4 separate regions of the Homo sapiens genome follow, and regions 1, 3 and 4 are each linked to region 2. Evidence: promoter capture Hi-C in human tissues and cell types (Jung and others, 2019). All regions are on one chromosome and are shown on one strand. The core of a region is centred on a gene start or on the middle of the fragment in contact, and the rest is flanking DNA. Distances in the headings are between cores, read along the strand shown.

Region 1 (4,613 bases), core at 869-3,368, 750 kb before region 2:
CAAATTGCATAATGTATTCTATAAGAGACACCTGATTCTTTTCCTGCTGATGTAAATTAGAAGCTATAGTTTTCTATTTGCTATTACAGTAAATGTTGATCTTATTATCTTCCATCCAATAAACTTTCTGCAATTTCTGGCACATGCCTGTTATACTGATTATGAAATAAAAGTAATTGGTGGTTATCACTATGTTAAAAAAAAGAGAGATGAAAAGCTTCGTGAAAAGGGTGTTGATGGCCTTTTCAGTACTCACCATTAAAAATGCAAAATAAAGATTCAGACCAAGAAATATATATTATAAAATTACTGTATGTATATGTTATTAGTCTACTACTTGGTCATTTAGAGAAAATGTGGCTATTTTCAAGAATTCCATGGATGTGAAACGGACACTGCTTATGAGTGGGGGAAAACTGTGGGTTAATTCCTTAAGTGAGACTAGTTGTATAACCTTGACCAAGTCACTCATTTCAGTGGAACTTGGCCTCACCTCATATTCATAACAACAATTTCTAATATTTACAGAGTCTTTTCTCTGTATCAAAAAATGGCCTAGGTTTTTTCCACATATTAATTCATTTAATCCCCACAATATTATGGGACAGTACTATTTTGCCCCATTTTATAGAACAATAAGTTAAAGTATCTTGACTAAAGTCATTCAGCTAACTGGTAGCAAAGTTAAGCTTGAACTGCCAGTCTGGCTCCGGAGTAAGTACTATTAACCAGTTTCCTAATGATTCTCAAACTACAGAGTGCACCAGAATCACCTGGAGAGCTTGTTAAAATACAAATTGGTGTGTCTCAAACCCAGAGTTTCTGATGCACTAGGTCGGGGGTGGTGCCTGAGAATTTGCATTTCTAACCAGTTTCCGAGTGTTGCTGATGCCACTGGTTCAGGGACCACCTGGTGAGAAGCACTATGGTATACTATACTGCCTTTCTTCTCCAGGATTTTGATTATGTATAATTTCTTTTACATGTGTGTTCATTCAAATTAATTAAATTACATTTTAAGAAACTGTTTTAAGTACTCAGCTTTTATATTTCAAAAATACAGCATAAGGTCTATCAAAATGAATTCTTCTTGCCTTTTTCTTTAGATTATTTAAGCACGTTAAATGAATAATAAATGAAAGAATTGTCTTATTTGAGCTAAAAGGTACGATATCAATGAAAATCATTTTCTTAGCTATTTGATTACCATTATTTAATTGATACTAGCACTTTCACATTTTATGTTCCTCCTTAGAAACGCTTTAATTCCCAGTTTATATGCTAATTTATGTGGTCAAATTTTAATCCTTGCTATGTTTTTCCATTTTCAAAAGTTTCCTTGAAGTCACTTTTCCCCCCATAGCACATTTTCCACAATTACCTGATAAGTTCTATTTATAGTCTCTAAATTTTTAAACATTGTGTTTAATCTTCCTTGTATATCCTTTATAAAATCAAAGATATATATTTTGGACAGTTTGAAAGAAGATAGAAAATGGAGATAAAAAACAACATTAGAATAGTATAAGAAAATTATGAAAATATAAATTAATGAAAGAACCTAAAAAAAGAAAAAAGCAAAAATACAAATGTATATATTTAAGTAATTCTGAATTATGTATAATTTTTATTTATATAAAATATATATTTGTGTATATATATAAAATGACTGCCTAGATATGCAGTGATTTAGTATACAATGTGTTTTCATGTATTCAGGAGCTGTCATATAAATAGTAGAACATAAGAGTATTTTTCATAGATTCCGCTGTAAATTTAGTTTATGTTTAAGTGAGAAACTTTGATCCAGATAGCCTCAAAATATAAGTAAAATACATAACTTTCAATCAAAATGTATGAAATGGAAACAATAAAGAGCATGTTGGTTTTGCTGATGTTAAGGGTTTTTGTCTGTCTTGAGATTTGAGTAGGAATATCTCCCTCAGGATCATTTGCCTTCTAAAGCATCTAGGGGTTTGGAATCATGACCAGGGAGAGAGATTCCGAAATGCGAGAAGATACTGTAAGAAAAAAAAAAAAAAGGAAAGAAGCAAAAAGTAAAATAAGTGAAGGGAACATGTCCTAATTAAAAACACTTTTCTATCTTTTAGAAGCCCCAAAATGCACACAGATGAAAGCAGCACTGCTTGTTTTATTAGTTGCCTAACCAATCAATACCATCCTGGAAGCAACAACTGTATAAACACAAAGCCTCCAGCAAATGCTTTGTAGAGCCACCTGCACTCTGATCTAAAATGAACCGGAGTGACATTTCAAACATTCTCATGAGAAGTTTTCTACTTTCTCAGGATACAACATTCCACATTGTCCATAAGACTATTGGAATATGTTCAGCAGCATTTTCATTCCAGTATGCACAGTACAATGTTTTCAAATCGTAGAAGATGTGTTTGTCCTTGATGTTGAGCACATAAAGCTGATATTTTGCTGTTACTATTTCAAAAAGATTATTAAAGTAGTTACAACATGTTCCTGTTAAGTACTATTGCATGTATTCCTGATTCATATTTTTTTATTTGTTTTTCTTTCCATGTTAGAGCTGCAACTAACCGAGTTGTGTTTTCTTTAAAAATTTATCTTCTTTTGTACCACCAGGGTTATGTAAAATAGGTCTTTGTATAAACCTAAACCAAAATGTACTTAAAATATTTAGTTAAATTTGTAAATATGATTTTTCCTTTACAATAAAACAAAGACATTATTTATTCATTACTGCAAAATAGCTTAGTCTGGAAATTTTAGTTAGCATTGATTTATAAGTAGTTTTTAAAATAAAAATAGGTAACCATAAATGTCAGTTTATGCTAAATATTGTGGTAAAATTTTGTTCATTTACTTAGTTGATATTTATCACAACAATGTGTGTGGTAAATACTCTCAATATTTCATGAGAAAAGTAGAAGTTAGAAAAACTAAGCGACTTTTCCTAAACAACCAGTAGGTGTTTAAGCATAAACTTGAACACAATTCTAACTCCAAAGCTTAAGTCCAAAGAGGAATTCTTTTACCTCATTGCTATTCTCAATAGCAACACACTGAAAATTGAGTTGATTACCTATTTACTGCGTTTTGGCCCTTTTGTGTATAAGAATTATGTGGTAATTTGTAGAAATAAAAAGTTCACAGTCATTAATGAAAATAAAATCCACAAGAGAATTCTATGGTGATAATTGCATATGTTTAAATTTTTCCTGGGAAGGCAAGTTGAGGGGATGGCAGAGGAAATATGGGGATGGTTAATGGGTATAAAAAAAAAATAGAAAGAATGAATAACACATACCATTGTGATACTATTTGATCACACAACCAAATGACTATAGTCAATGTTTAGTTGTACATTTAAAAATAACTGAAAAAAGTTAAGATGATAAATATTATGTTATGTATATCTACCATTAAAAATAAAAATAACAACAATCTACATTTTTCATCCTTATGCATAGACTTTCATATGAGGCGTCTAAGATTTTGTCGAATATAAAAGAAAATAAGCCTATCAGCTTAACAATACATTTTAGTTGTAATTTTAATACTATTAACTATAATTTTACTTGTATATTAGTTAAGTAGTTATATATTAATAAAAATAGGTTATTTATCTGTACTTCCTGGATGCCAGATATTAATTCATTGATTACTAATACATTAGTAATCAATTCATTAACTCATTGACATTAATCAATTTATAGGTTTAGGAAACATGATAAACATGATGGATGTAGAACTTTCTTGCAGAGTTTATACTCTAGCAAAGGATATATACATGAAAGAAACAAATTATAGAAATAATTATTTAACTATAATTTTGATAAACGTCAGCAAGCGGAAGTGCAGGGTGCTTAGAGAACACTGAACCTCACACATGCTTTTGGGTGGAGGTGAGATTTGGAAAACTTTCCTAAGGGAATAATAGTAAGCTAATATATGAATGATAAGGAGAAGTTAGTTGGTAAAGTGTGAAGAATAATGGAGATCAGAAAAAATTATTTTATTCTAATTCTCTTCAGAAGCATGTACATTTATTGTTAGCATCGTTGAAGGACCAGATTTTTAGGGAGAGACACGAAGCATATAAAATTTTGGAAAGGAGACTCTTTAATAAAAAGAGTGCAGTTTGTACTTGGTTCAAGATGGCTGGCTAAAGACAAGGATGCTAGTTCTCCTCAAAAGTAGTCAAAATGACAGATAATTATTAACTCAAATAGAATATTAAAGAGAAAATACTAGAACTCCACAGAGAAATCATGGGAAAAAACTGCAGCACAGAATAAAAGAGGAGGCAAGAGAGCAACTCTACTGGCAAAGATCACCTAGGAGCCTCAAGGGAGTTGGTATTGCACGGAAAGGGTAAGTGGGAGTATTTTGGTTGCCCTCATCTCTACTGCAGACTGCTGGTACCCAAACTGTGGGGGAGCCTCTCTGCCCTTGCATTCCTGGACTCTAGTGTGAGTGGTGACTTGGGGATTTCTTGAGGGTATTACACCTGACTGTGGACCCTTGCCAGGTTGCTCACCCTCCTTTCAGACTCGAGCAGCTGCAGCAGGGCATCATTTTGGGGGCATGAGAATTGAGAGACTATGTCCTACCCAGGG
Region 2 (4,518 bases), core at 1,298-3,797:
CAACAGCTACCCTTCCCCCCTTAGGTCCCCTCCCTTGTTGTGTGTGTGTGTGTGCGCCCGCGTGTGTTTCCTGAAAGGCGGGCGAGGTGGGTTCAATATCTGTTCTCCCTAGTGAGAGGAATACAGCCTCTAGAGAAAACTTCTCCATACAGATGAGGTTTTCTAAACTCCAGGGGAAGCAGGATCCAACTTCCCCTTGTAGGTAAAAAGACTTAGTGCCTCCGATATATCTTTTTTTTTTCCAACCAAGTGTACAATAATTTTTAAAGATACCTCGGCCCTTTCTTTACCTCCACTCCTCATTCCATTCCACTCAAAGTTGGTGGGAAATGCTGGGCTGCTAGACTCAGACTTGTTGATGGGAACAGAACAATTAATTTTTTTTCCGAATTTATATTTCCCGGCACAAGCACAAATGCTCAGCCAGGTCCCTTCAGGCACCGGGAAATCATCCCGGATACCCAAGCCGACTTTTGAGCAAGCACAGCCCATGGAAAGGGCAGTCCCGCCGGCCAGCCCCAAGCGAGAATCTAGTTGGTGAGAAGACCAGAAAACCAGAAAGGCGAGGAGCGGCGGACGCTGACCCTGCCTTCCTCCAGCCCGTGCAGTCAGCGCTGGCGTCAGGGCAAAAAATATATTCATTTTCATTTTCCTCTCGCTGGGGCACGGTGAGTTTCCTAACCGGGCCGCCTATGAAAGGATGAGTTGAGGTTTCTTTGTTTGGAAAAAGAGTTTAGGGCTTTGATTCAGCTGCAAAGAAGCCAAATGAAGTTAGAAACAAAGGGTAAATTGAAGGATTCCGACTCTTGGCTTTTTGTGTTTTCCTTACTAGAAAATAATTAGACCTAATGAATATGCAGACGCTTCAGCTAAAGCCTCGGCCAGGACTGCTGGGTTTTAAACAGAGCTGCGGAGAAATGCAACCTTCGTCCCCACAACCCCCCGCATCCGCGTGCATTTTTTGAAATGCATAAATGTTGCTCGGCTTAATTGATTGAGTCACAGGGATTTTTTTTTCCTGCTTTTAAGTACCATACTCCCCTACCTTTCAACAATCATTTTAATATATAGTCAATGGCTCTTTGTGGAAGGGACAAAAAGAAACTACGCGCAGTTGTTGAATAGACTTTGCGCTAGGCAAAGACAGGTTAATCGAGGGCCGCATCGCGAAAACAAGCGAGTGTTGTATGTTTGCACTGAATCCAAATGTCTGCATTTTCCTAACTAAATCAAAGGGAGTGTTATTTCTTTTTCTGCTCACTCATCTGAAGGTAAGTAAATTTTCTCTGGCGATCAAAAGCCTGGTCGGCAACAAAGACCGCGCCCGCTTTTTCCACCGTCCTGGTGTGGCGAGTTGCGGAATTTCAATAACTGTGACAAGGGTGACTGATTTGTGAACTAGAAAAGGTTTGAATGTCACAAAATTTACATTGGTCCTATCTATTGGGGATTTAAATACCGAAAAAGTATTCGGGGATCTCTAGGGAGCTTTGGGCAGCCCAAGGGAACAATAGCGCGTTGGGAAATTTACAGTTTTACCTGAATGAAAGGGGCCCAAGTAGGGAACAGGAGTGAGGAGAGACAGGGTTAGCGGGGGCAGTCGAAGGAGACAACGGAAAGGCAGAAAACAGAAAAATAACGCAAGAGAGAGAAAAAGTAAAGGAAACTGGCAACAACGTTTCAAATTTGCCATTAAAAAATTCAAACCTCAATAACCTGGGAACTTAAGCGCTTTCATCCACCTGTGTGTGTGAGTGTGTGTGTGTGTGTGTTTTCGGGGAGGGGGGTGCGGTGGTGCCGGAAGTCTGATTAGATAAAAGCGAGAAATACAGAGGCTGCCGGTTACACTGAGAAATTACATTTTTTTGTAAAGAGAGCATAGTGCCCGTGTGCTCCCAAGATCTTAAATTATAAACAGGAGGGGGACAAAGCAAGAGGGAAACAAACTTCAAAAGGAGCAAATAACAAAAGCCTCTTTTGCTGCTCTTGAAGGGAGGGGGGAAGGGGGAAGAAAGAAAAGAAAGTTGCTGAATCGGGACATTCTGGAAGTGCCTTTGCTGTGTTTACTAGCCCCATCCCCGCCTGCTGCACCCGGAGACGTCTGAAGTCTCTAATCGCTCAGCGAAAAGTTGGTTTCGGGAAGGGCAGCGCCGGGGTGCGGGAGGGCAAAGGAGGAAGAGGAATGCATATGACTGTGAGAAGGAAAAGTAATCGTGGCAAAAAAAAAAAAAAAAAAAAAAAAAGAAAGAAAGAAAAGAAAAAAGAAAAAAAATTTCCGTGAGAAGAGGGAAAAAATTTGGCTAAAAAAAAAGTTGCTACTCCTGGCAGCCCTGGTTTGTCAAAAGGGGATGTCAAGCGCTTTACAATACCTGGGATTGATGAGGCGGGCGGGCCAATGAGCTGCGCGCGGCGCCTCGGCGCGCCCTCCGTTGGCGCGGCGGCTGAGGGCGGGGGGAATGCGGGCGCACCAATGGGCGCCAGCGTCGGCAGCACGTGACACCTCCCCCCTGCTCCCATTCATCAAGGGGGGGACGGTGTCGTCCTTTCAATTCATTTATCTGCAGGAATGATTGCTGCTATCAGTCTCGCGCTCACCGCCCGGCTGAGGAGGTGAAAGTTTCTCCCCAGGAAGATAAACCGCAAAAGACAATATTGTGCATGATTTGCGCCTTTTCTTTGGCTTTTTCTTTCTTTCTTCACCCCCCCACCCACTTTTTTTTTTTTTTTTTTCAAAAAGCAGAGAGGGAAAAACGGAGAGTGAAGGAGCGAGGAGGCGAGCGTGAGAGAAAGGAGAGAGAGAGAAAAGAAAGGGCGAGGGGCTAGTGGAGAAGTAAGGAGGGGCGCGCTGCGCGAGGCGGAGAGAGGGCGAAGCAGTCGCGGCACTGGCGCTCACATTCCTCTATGCTACAAATCCAGGAGGAAGTTTTTTTTTAGGGGGCTGAGATGCTCCATGCCTTTCCCCGGGCAGCCTTGACGCGCGGCCCTCTCGGCAGAGACTGAGCGGCGAGAAAGTGCGAGCCGGGCCGGCAGAATCTGCCTGGCGGGCGCTGGAGCCTGCGTTACTCGCGGCCCGCAGCCGTCCGGCTACTTTGCGTTTGGCCCGGCCAGCGCCCGGGCGCGCCGCGCCATTGCCTGCAGGCTAGGACTTCGCGAGGTGGGTCGACTCCCCCTCCCTCCTCCTCTTCTTCCTCCTCTTCCTCCTCCTCTTGTTCCTCCTCCTCCTCCCGATTTTCCCTCCTCGGCTGGCGAGGGTGGGGGGGGCGGGGGAGGCCGGGGCTCGCCCCGAGCAGCCACGATGCTCCTGGACGCCGGCCCCCAGTACCCAGCGATCGGCGTGACCACCTTTGGCGCGTCCCGCCACCACTCCGCGGGCGACGTGGCCGAACGAGACGTGGGCCTGGGCATCAACCCGTTCGCCGACGGCATGGGCGCCTTCAAGCTCAACCCCAGTTCGCACGAGCTGGCTTCGGCCGGCCAGACGGCCTTCACGTCGCAGGCGCCAGGCTACGCGGCTGCTGCGGCCCTGGGCCATCACCATCACCCGGGCCACGTCGGCTCCTATTCCAGCGCAGCCTTCAACTCCACGCGGGACTTTCTGTTCCGCAACCGGGGTTTTGGCGACGCGGCGGCGGCAGCCAGCGCACAGCACAGCCTCTTTGCTGCATCGGCCGGGGGCTTCGGGGGCCCACACGGCCACACGGACGCCGCGGGCCACCTCCTCTTCCCCGGGCTTCACGAGCAGGCTGCCGGCCACGCGTCGCCTAACGTGGTCAACGGGCAGATGAGGCTCGGCTTCTCGGGGGACATGTACCCGCGACCGGAGCAGTACGGCCAGGTGACCAGCCCGCGTTCGGAGCACTATGCTGCGCCGCAGCTGCACGGCTACGGGCCCATGAACGTGAACATGGCCGCGCATCACGGCGCCGGCGCCTTCTTCCGCTACATGCGCCAACCCATCAAGCAAGAGCTCATCTGCAAGTGGATCGAGCCCGAGCAGCTGGCCAACCCCAAAAAGTCGTGCAACAAAACTTTCAGCACCATGCACGAGCTAGTTACGCACGTCACCGTGGAGCACGTAGGTGGCCCGGAGCAGAGTAATCACATCTGCTTCTGGGAGGAGTGTCCGCGCGAGGGCAAGCCCTTCAAAGCCAAATACAAACTGGTTAACCACATCCGCGTGCACACGGGCGAGAAGCCCTTTCCCTGCCCCTTCCCTGGCTGTGGCAAGGTCTTCGCGCGCTCCGAGAATTTAAAGATCCACAAAAGGACGCACACAGGTACGGAAACAGCTGTAGGACCCCTACCCATTCCCACTTGGGCCTGGGACCCAAACCGAAAGTCAGCGGCCAGGTCGCACAAACGCAGCCTCGGTGGGATCCCGGGCGTCAGGTTCCGGCAGGCAGGCAGGGAAAGTGTGCGCTGATTTTTAGTTTCTGGCTTGAAATTATGGAAAACACACACACACACACAGGGCGGACGAGGAGGAGCTGGGTATATAGATTTTTTAAATGAGAAACA
Region 3 (4,732 bases), core at 1,862-4,361, 600 kb after region 2:
TAAATGCTAAATGAAATTGAAATACATTTTATTCTTAAGGAAAACAAAGCTTTTGTTTTTTAATTTTCTCACAGAGTGAATTCCAAAGAAATTAATTTTTAAAATTGTGAGTCTTTTGAGCCTGAAAATGCAAATTCTGCGTATCATATTTTATAGAATGCATATGTAAATACTTTTCCTATCAATTATAATTAAACTTTGATAAAGGAAAATAATGTGTATTAGGCATATATGTTCCATGCATATATTGAGTTCTCCTATTGTCCCATGATGTATTCTTTTATTTTCTTACACATTTATAGAGAAAGAAAAATTTAGAGAGGCAAATTTTCTTGTTTAGAATTACACCATAAGAAATTAGTGGTTCCTGATTTCAGATTTGAATTTGCCTGAATCTAGTTCCCCAAATCATACGGAGCACCACTGTGTGCTTAGCACAGTGCCCTGTTGTGTGTAGACAGAAAAAAGGATTACAACACAGCCTCTACCCTGAATACACATTTAAATTTTGAGAAAATAAAACGTTAAATGAGAAATATTGGCTGGGCACTGTGGCTCATACCTGTAATCTCAGCACTTTGGGAGGCCGAGGTGGGCAGATCATTTGAGGTCAGGAGTTGGAGACCAGCTTGGCCAGTATGTTGAAACCCCGTCTCTACTGAAAATACAAAAAAAACAAACAAAAACAAAACAAAACAAAAAAAACTAGGCGAGCGTGGCATCACATACCTGTAGTCCCAGATACTCGAGAGGCTGAGGCAGGAGAATCACTTGAACTGGGGAGGGAGAGGTTGTAATGAGCCAAGATCATGCCATTGCACTCCAACCTGGGCAACAGAATGACACTATCTCCAAAAATTTTTTAAATAATAAAAAAATTATTAGAGCACAAAAATATTAGTGGTATATTGTATGGGACTTTTGTAGTTAAAATGAAAATCTACAAAGATTAGAGATATGTGTGGTCAGCTGCATTGAAGAAGTTTTCATAGAGGAGGTGAGATTTTAGGTAAGCTTTGAACAATCAGTAATATTCAGATATACAGAAAGAACAATATGGGTATGTTTGGTTGACTTAATCTTCATTCCCAGACAACTTTCAGTTGGAGAAACTTCACAGAAGAGTTCTGAATGATGACATGGAAGTGAAAGTCAGCTGTGTGATTCCTGGGAAGCCTGTTGCTTTCCTGAGACAGCACCCCCACCCACTGTTTTTGCTTCTTCTTGTTGGAATGCAGATGTGATAACTGGAGACTGCCAGGAGAACATCTGAAGCCTGGGGGTCACTTCACTATGTCACTCAACCAGCGCCAGTAACTGCTCTTCTCCAGACTTATTATACAACAAAAACAAACCCTTATTTGTTTAAGACTCCCTAGCTGGGTAGTTTATTACATATGGAAAGAAATTTCCTAATAGATATGGAAAAACATACAATATTGCAAGTAAGGGAAATACAACAGAAAATGCACTCGTCTTGGGAGTAAGAAAGTTTAAGCTTCCATAACTGGTAATACTTAAATATAATTTAGTCTGATACCAAAATTCAGTCTTTGACCAATAAATCATGATGGGTGCCTGAGACAATCAAGGTCATTGTTTCTTTTATGGTTCCATGTTTTAATCTTCTTCCTATAGGGGTATCTGAGATCATTCACTGAAAAATAGGGTAAAATGAAGACTTTGAAATTGTATGGAGAGAGAAAATTCTGAATAACCTATATGGGAATATGAGTATAACTCCTATAAAATGAAATAAAGGAGTAACTTGGAAGTTAGTAAACTAGTCTTTATTACATTTGGGAAGTTCTGTGCTCAACTGTGGTGATTTGGTTTAAATTAGATTGTGTGAATTTCCTTATTTCTGATATATTTGGATAGATGTCAATATTAAATTTAGTTTTAAATGAGAGATTTTAAAAAATGAGTTGATCTTTCTATTTTTAAGAGATTGATAATGCCAGTACCTTTGGCTGAAATGAAGCTGTCTGAAACAAGTGTATGTTTTGGAAGGAAAGTAGCATTTTTGGAAGGAAAGTAGTATCTGAGGGATACATTGAGTATGAGCTTCCTTTACATAGACTTGTTTTGTAAGCTGCTGAGAACAGGCACAGAGACAAAGCCAGTGGGTCACAAATGGTGTTCTACATTTAGAAATAATCAGAAAAAGAAGCAAAATCTATTAAAATGGATGATTTAATAAAACTGCTAAGCTAAAATTGTAGTTATCAAGAACAAAAACGTGAACTTCCGTAATGGGAAGGCAGCAGTCTAAGAAAAGAAAAACAAGAAGAGAGAGAAGATAGTTACGAAAGTGAAATATCAAGAAAGTTATGGTAGACTGCTTTGGAATTCAGGAACTCAACAAAGTGTAAGATTGGGATTCTGGAAAGACCTTTGTATAAAAATGCTCTGGTGAGTAGTTCTGGTAGTGCTGAGGTGGTGAAGAGATTGCATTTCAGGAGTTGGGTAATAAAGGGAAGGAGAGAAAACAGACAATGCTTAGCAGAAGTAGTGTGAATGAAAACTTTTAGCTCTGCTCCAAATAAAGAGCTGACCCTCCAAAAGCATGTGAGAGACTTACATGAAGTTTTAGGATAGTGGAAGAAGCTTTATTGTTACCTTGGTAGCTTCTGGAGAATACAGATACTGGAAGCATAAACTTTTTTTTGGCTTAACAATTTAAAATATTATCTTTAAAATCCTTTGTTTTGTTATATTATGATAATTGCTTTTAAACTTTTGAAAAAAATTATGTGAACATTTTGAGTTGTACAAACATTGTAAAAATTAGTTTCTCCAATTTATAATTGACAAATGTGCTAACACACAAAAAGTTGCAAGTATTCAGCTCTTAATGAAAAAGATTCTTTCTACTTTTAAAAATCAAAAAGTTTGTATAATACGCTTAGACAGAAAAATGTCTTTTCTTCACGAGAAAACTTTAAGTGAATTTTACTTACTTATGCTTTTGTATTCCTTTTTATAAAATATAATTATTCCTTGCTATATGCACTTTAATCATTATTGTATGGCAGCAGAAAGCTACAAACCTACATCTTAGTATCATGGCTCCCCACAAAATTGCCTTTATAGAATGATATACAACAATTTAGGAAAATTTAAAATTATGCCATTACTTTTATCTAGGAGCTATGTAGAAAATATGAACAAAATATCTACATTAAATATTAAAATATAAATGAACAAAAATGACTATAAAAGGATGGCATGCCTTATGTTATTCGTTTTCTTATATTTATGTGATTAATTATTTTTATGAGGGTCATGCTAAAAAAAAAGAAACAGATAAGAGGAAAAAGTAAAATCACAAAAACTTTGGTAAAACTTGTATGTTTTAGATTTGACTTTCCTAAGACAAAATAAAATGAGACATACTCTCTTTTTGTCAAATGAGAGCTCTATGAACCATCACATTTCTTGTTTCTTCTTGGCTCTCAGGAAGCTCAAATTAATATTTTGCTCAAATAACTTTAAATAAAGCATTTTCTTCTGGTATAATTATTTTTATATTTATCTTTAGTACTTGGACTTTCTGTTGTTTCTTGGAACTTACTGGTTTTACATTCCATGATATGTGTTTTTAAGGCCATCAATTTTCTTATGATTTTTTTTGGAAGTAGGCAGAACACAGACAATAAATAATAAGTTGTGTCATTATCAAATCCCATGAAAGGTCAATAAATAAATGCATTTTAGGAAAAATAGTAAGATAAATTGAAAAAGAATCAACTTGCCTTAACTTAAAAGTATGTTTTTAAATATCATAAATGTTGAAAATCAGCTTCATTGATGGAATTTTTATCACCATTAAAATAATCAATAAACAAAAAGAGGACAATAGAATAAACTACTAACTTGAAATGTTCTAGACTGTATAGGACATACAATAAAAATTAATAATATTGATTAAGGTTACCAAGAATCTCCCTGGTCTGGGAAATCTAAAATCCACTTCTTACCCTGACTATGTCATTGACAATTTAGCTGAACTTGACTAAGTATTTACCTTTTGGTACTTCAGTTGTCTCACTGATAAAATAAATAAATTTGACTTACTAATCAGTAAGCCTCCTTCCAACTGTAAAATTTATTTCCTAGAATGTCTTTTGAAGTCTTTATATTTTAGATGCACTATTTTTTGTTTTGTCTCATTTTACTGCTTATAACAATGGATTAAGGGAGGCAAAAAATTAAATATAAAAACCACACAGGAATAAATGAACATAGATTTATCTGCTTTTCCTACTTTTCTTTTGAAAGGGTATGGTTATTGCACTTTAGTGAACTTAAATTCTAAATATTTAACTTCTCAAAGTTTGTAACATTATAACCAACAGTAAGTAATACTTAAAACCAGTTGCATGTTGTCATAAAAGATGGAGACTGGGAGTTTTTTAAGAGGCTGTATGATTTTGACATCTTCCAAAGTTGCATTTTGGCTTGGAAAATTATGTCAACAATGTGTCATAAGAACACACTTTCTTTTAGAATTTCAACACATCTACCCCCAGTAGGAATTAGAAAAATAGAGTTCCATAAAAATGAAAACTATATATTTCAGTATAACCCTTCACTTTTCCTCTTTCAGTTTCCAAAAATGTTTTATTCTAATTTGATTCACATTTGGAGTAATTTGGGAATTAGTTTACTGGATTGTCCACCTCCATTTCAGATTGGCAGCAGGAAAGCATTTAACAACCACAGACTT
Region 4 (4,876 bases), core at 1,423-3,922, 640 kb before region 2:
TAATATCACCTGAGTAAATTATTTCATTTTTCTTAGCTACAGTAGGCAATTATATTTGTTATTTTAATAATATACACCCTAAAAGAGAAGTGGAAGAAAAATTATTCTTGTTTTAATATTTTATAATCTTAAAGTATGAAGATACTCTCAATTTATAGAAGCAAAGCAGAAACCATAAATGGAAAGGTAGGCATTACATCAAATAAGATATAATCAATGTGAATCAAACTTTTTTATTTTAAATATTAATTATTTGAATTCAGTGTGTCTTTTATTGTCAATATGCTGATAATATGATTGTTTGGCTTCATACAATTTCATTGCAACACCTACTGTGTCTAACACAATAAGGATATTTATTGATAATTTTATTTAGTTGGAACTAAACTAGCCGTCACAAAATTGACAAGTGGCCTAAAATGACTCTTTTAAAGATAATACAAATAAAATAAGCACATTACCAAAAACAGCAGAGTAATAGTTCTTTCACTACAAGTTATTTCAGCCACAATGTGAGCTGAAAAAATGACAATGATAAGTAGTGCAAAAAATAAGTTGAAAGTATCAGGATTTTTTGAAATACAGATTTACAACCACTATAATAAATACTGAACTTTATCTAGTATGTATATATTTTATGCTACATGTATTATACAATGGTAAATATAACATTTTCATATATTACTGTCTTTAATACCAAACATAGAAATAAACTAAATTTAGACCCCGGCATTAAAATTTGTTTATTCACAAATATTAAAATATTTTTGAAATCATGAACCATGTCTAACTAACCTGCTCCTAAGAAAATATATAATTAGGGCTAATGCAAGTTTCATTAAAAAAATTGTATGTTGTTCATTAGTAAATAGAAATAAAATAATTGACATTGATTTGTTTCATTTGGTTTACCTTAATTTCTGTGTGAATATTGTGTGATATACATAAAGCAATGTGTTATATAAATCATAGATAAATGTAATATTTATTGGGGTGGTACTTAAAGTATTTCAGTGCCAAGGATTCAAGTACATTTGTGGTTTTTTCTTAAAAGATAAATATCATAGTTTGTATATCCATTGGTAGAAAAAACAAAAATGGTGGAAAGAATACATAATAATGCCAAGGTAAATGGTGAAGCCAGAGTTCAAATTCAGGTCTCTGAATTCTGAGACTAGACCCTCTGCCATTTAATATACAACATCACCTAAAGTCAAAAATCTTAAGTTGCTTTTCAGGACTTCAAATACATTCTGACTATCTCTCCAGCCTTTGAGGTACTTTCATGCAGTTGATAGACTTTCTGGGAAGAATATTATGACAGCAAACAATGTTGCATGTAATGATTTTGGTGATTAGAAGACCTGCTCCTCAATCTACATATATTTCTATTCACACAAAAGATATTTGGGACAGAAAAATTCTTTTAAACCTGAAATTTGGTGCCTAAGTTATTGTCAGGTCACAATAGTGTAAAAATTAAAATGGTCTGGTCTATTTCCATCTTCAACCAGCTCTTTCTATTCAAGAAACATGGAAGTAATAAAACAACATTAAAAGTACGCAATGGGTTTCTTAAAAGTTTTGTTTCATTTTGCTTATCAAAGTTACAAGTCTAATATTAATCCTTTTGAAGCCTAGTAAGTGAAGATTAAAGCATTCTAACATCTATCTATAGGTGTGCCATAATGAATTATGATCCTTACCTAATTCCATGTAATGGAAAAGCTCCAGTAAGTAACAAACTTAATCAGTGCAGTGGCACAGAAGATCAATCTTTGATTCCTATATTCACAAACTGGTTATTTGGTCACATTAGAGAGCAGGCTGAGTGTTGGAACAGATTCCTAGAAATGATGGATGTAATTGTCAAAGCTGCCAGGGTCAATGTATAATGTTCATAAAAGAACCAACCCAATTCAAGCACCTTCCATTTATCATTTATGCAATTTGACCCCTAGTTCTCTTTATAACATATAAAGGAGAAACAACTGCCATGTTCACTCCATTGGAATCTTGTGCACTTTCCACTATCATTCAGGTCACAGCCTTTTTTAGACTGGGGTTATTTGTACATAACTTTCCCTTCTCTGAGGGCATTGGGACAATTAATTGAAATATGGATTTAAAGAAGATAGAAATAGATCCATGAATCTGTATGTAATCGCCATGTTACCATATAGAATGTTTTGAAATCCCCAGTCAGAATCTTTCTGATTCATCATCTACTTACTGTTATAATACACACTCAACTTTGACATTGGCAATATTGTGTTGAGAATTATTCCAATAACCAGCATTTTACAGGTGGGTTTTTCTTATGAAATTTGCACGTGCTAAAGTGTTAGGTGTACAAAAATTTAAAAGAAAACCTCAAATAAATACATATTAATGTCATATATATTTTCAATTGGAGAACAATATAAGGAACTTTTATTTATTTTGCTTGAACAATTGGTCTTCTGTGGCAATTGATGAATTAAATGGACACTATCACAGATGAGTTCAGTTACAATTATACATATTATTAATTCTAGAGTCTTATCAAGAAAAACAGCTGTTTGGAATTCTTGGCTCTTTGTTTTTAGATTTGTGTATTTACAACACTTCCATAAAAGTGTGTTCTTACTGGATATTTGCATTAGAATGTAAGCTCATGAGGACAACGCTTACTCTTGGCCAGATTTTAGATTTCTAGAAGAATGAGTACATTGTAGAGGCTCAGTATTTACTGAAAGAAAAAAATAAGAGAAAGAAGGAAAGAAACAGTAATACAGAAAGGAAAGTGAACAAAGAGTATAATGCATATTATTTTAAAATATGCAGATATTGAAGTGATTTGTGGGGTATTTCCAAAATTAGATATGATTCATTATGATATTATTACCCACATCAATGACACTATTACCCACTTTCTGAAACTAAAGCAGTATATTTCCTAAATTACAATAGATATTTATCTGTTTTAAAAACAGCAAGGTGATCTTACGGAAAATGCAAGTAACGTGAAAAAGGAGCAATCATAACTAAAATGATGTAACATTGAAAAGTGCCTCACTGGTTTTCTTCTTCACTTCAGGATAAGTATATCCTTAAATATACTTCAAAACACTGTAATAAGAAAAATAGCTCTCCAAAACCTAATACTAAATAGAAAATTAGTATCAAGTGACCTAAAATGTAACTTAAATGAAAATGTCACAAACAGTCAACAGATAGTTTCTAAATGTCAAAATAAGCCTGTCACTCTGCAAGAAGCTCAGAGAAGCGTAGTCCTTTCTCTTCTGAGTGTGCAGTTCTAGCAGGCACAGAGATAAATGAGAAATAATAAATGTGATAACTGCTGTAATAGGCAAATACAGAAAGTATACTGAAAATAAGGGCAACAATTTTGACAAACAAAACATTAATAAACAATTGAAACTACAAAAAAGACTCATAATTTTAATAAATTTTGCCTTCTTCATCTCTTCTCAAGAAAACAAATGCCTCTGCTTTATTGGGTGACATGATCATAAGGAGATGTAACAGCTCTGATTTGTATTACTGAATCTCATTTTCCTCATTTGTGAAACACGAGTTTAAAAATCCTTTTGAAGGTCAAATGAGAATATTTGATATTATTGTGTAAACTGTCAAGTGCTACACAAATATTAGTCATTTTTTTCCACAATTGTTTTTAGCATGTGTATGTCACATGGTTAACGTAGCATTCTCATAAAAGAAACCTTGAAATGTCTCTCCTACTCAATTTTTATTTTGCAACTATTTTCAGTCATTATTATGTATGATATGCTTTTTAGGGGCATTTGAATTTTAAAGAGAATAAGTAAAAACTGAAAGGAGAAGGACAATGAAATTATGAGATTACAGTCATAATAATTTCATTGATTAATTTTTCATAGAACTATATTATATTGCTCCCAAAAGATTTTCCGAGAAATTAAAAAATGCTGCACCACCATTTGAAATGGCTGTACAACTGCTGCTTAGGTTAGAGTTAACTTTTTTTTAAGCCTGAAAATACAGTTATATTTTCATATAATAAAATAGGGAAAATAGGATTTTTAGTGCTACTTGCTCTCACCAGAAATAATCATAACCTTTAAACTGTTATTTATGTTAAATTAAATTTTTCATTTTTACTACCTCATGTTTTAGATGAGGCATGTATTTTTTAATGTATTTCCACACTGTTATTGTACCTGTATGATAAACTGCTGACTTACATTCATACCATAATTATTTTTTAGTTTTATTTCTCTGTTCCTAAAGAATCACAGAAGTAAAGAATTGTATTTATGCTTGTATTTTTCAGCAACCTTATGTCAGAAAATGATGCATATTACTGTAGAAATCATATATGCAAGTCCAAAGGGAGATGATGAAAAAGAAAACAAGCTTTAAAGTCTACACATTCCTAACACCGCATTAGGAACTCAGCACTCATAGTGAAATCAAAGAATGATCACACTCAACTCCATCTCAGACCTAGACTGAAATATCAAACTTCAAAAAGAAAAGAAAGTTAAGAACTTTAGGCTAATCAAAATTTTCCAACATAGTTAACATTATTGCTGCCTTCATCGCACTAGAAAACATAAACAAGAATCCAAGTTTTGTATATGCTTAAATAAAAATATTTTTATTTCTATCCATTATGACATATAAGCAAGTAGTAAAATAAAAGCACAATAAAATGATGTATAGAATTGTCTCAGTCTAAAAAAATTCAATTGAGACTATTAATTTTATGAAAACTATAAAGAATTCTTCATGAAATTATATTATACACTAATTTTTAGCATTCTACTTACATTTTACATCATCAACAAATTAAAGGAAACATTTAAACGTTATTTTTTCAATTTTATTA

Evidence for each region. The method cuts DNA at HindIII sites, captures the fragments that hold promoters and counts their contacts. A contact is called where the count stands out against the background at its distance.
Region 1: a contact is called between a fragment that was not itself captured here and the fragment with the promoter of ZIC1 in region 2, in 2 of the 25 tissues and cell types used here (pancreas and psoas muscle).
Region 3: a fragment that was not itself captured here is called in contact with the fragment with the promoter of ZIC1 in region 2 in 2 of the 25 tissues and cell types used here (dorsolateral prefrontal cortex and hippocampus).
Region 4: a fragment that was not itself captured here is called in contact with the fragment with the promoter of ZIC1 in region 2 in 2 of the 25 tissues and cell types used here (IMR-90 fibroblasts and mesenchymal stem cells).

The regions. Positions count from the first base shown.
Region 1 is chr3:146,653,303-146,657,915 of GRCh38, forward strand. No RefSeq gene overlaps it. Among named protein-coding and RNA genes, the nearest start is that of PLSCR5, 50 kb to the left of the region's middle. The HindIII fragment of the contact is 4,052 bases long and covers 93-4,144 here.
Region 2 is chr3:147,406,818-147,411,335 of GRCh38, forward strand. It overlaps ZIC1 (Zic family zinc finger 1), which reads left to right and starts at 2,548. Exons shown (of 3, transcript NM_003412.4): 1 at 2,548-4,277. The coding sequence starts at 3,296. RefSeq lists enhancers at 542-1,732, 2,155-2,735. The HindIII fragment of the contact is 11,475 bases long and covers 1-4,518 here.
Region 3 is chr3:148,007,575-148,012,306 of GRCh38, forward strand. No RefSeq gene overlaps it. Among named protein-coding and RNA genes, the nearest start is that of LINC02032, 68 kb to the right of the region's middle. The HindIII fragment of the contact is 3,711 bases long and covers 1,257-4,732 here.
Region 4 is chr3:146,762,823-146,767,698 of GRCh38, forward strand. No RefSeq gene overlaps it. Among named protein-coding and RNA genes, the nearest start is that of LINC02010, 160 kb to the right of the region's middle. The HindIII fragment of the contact is 7,948 bases long and covers 1-4,876 here.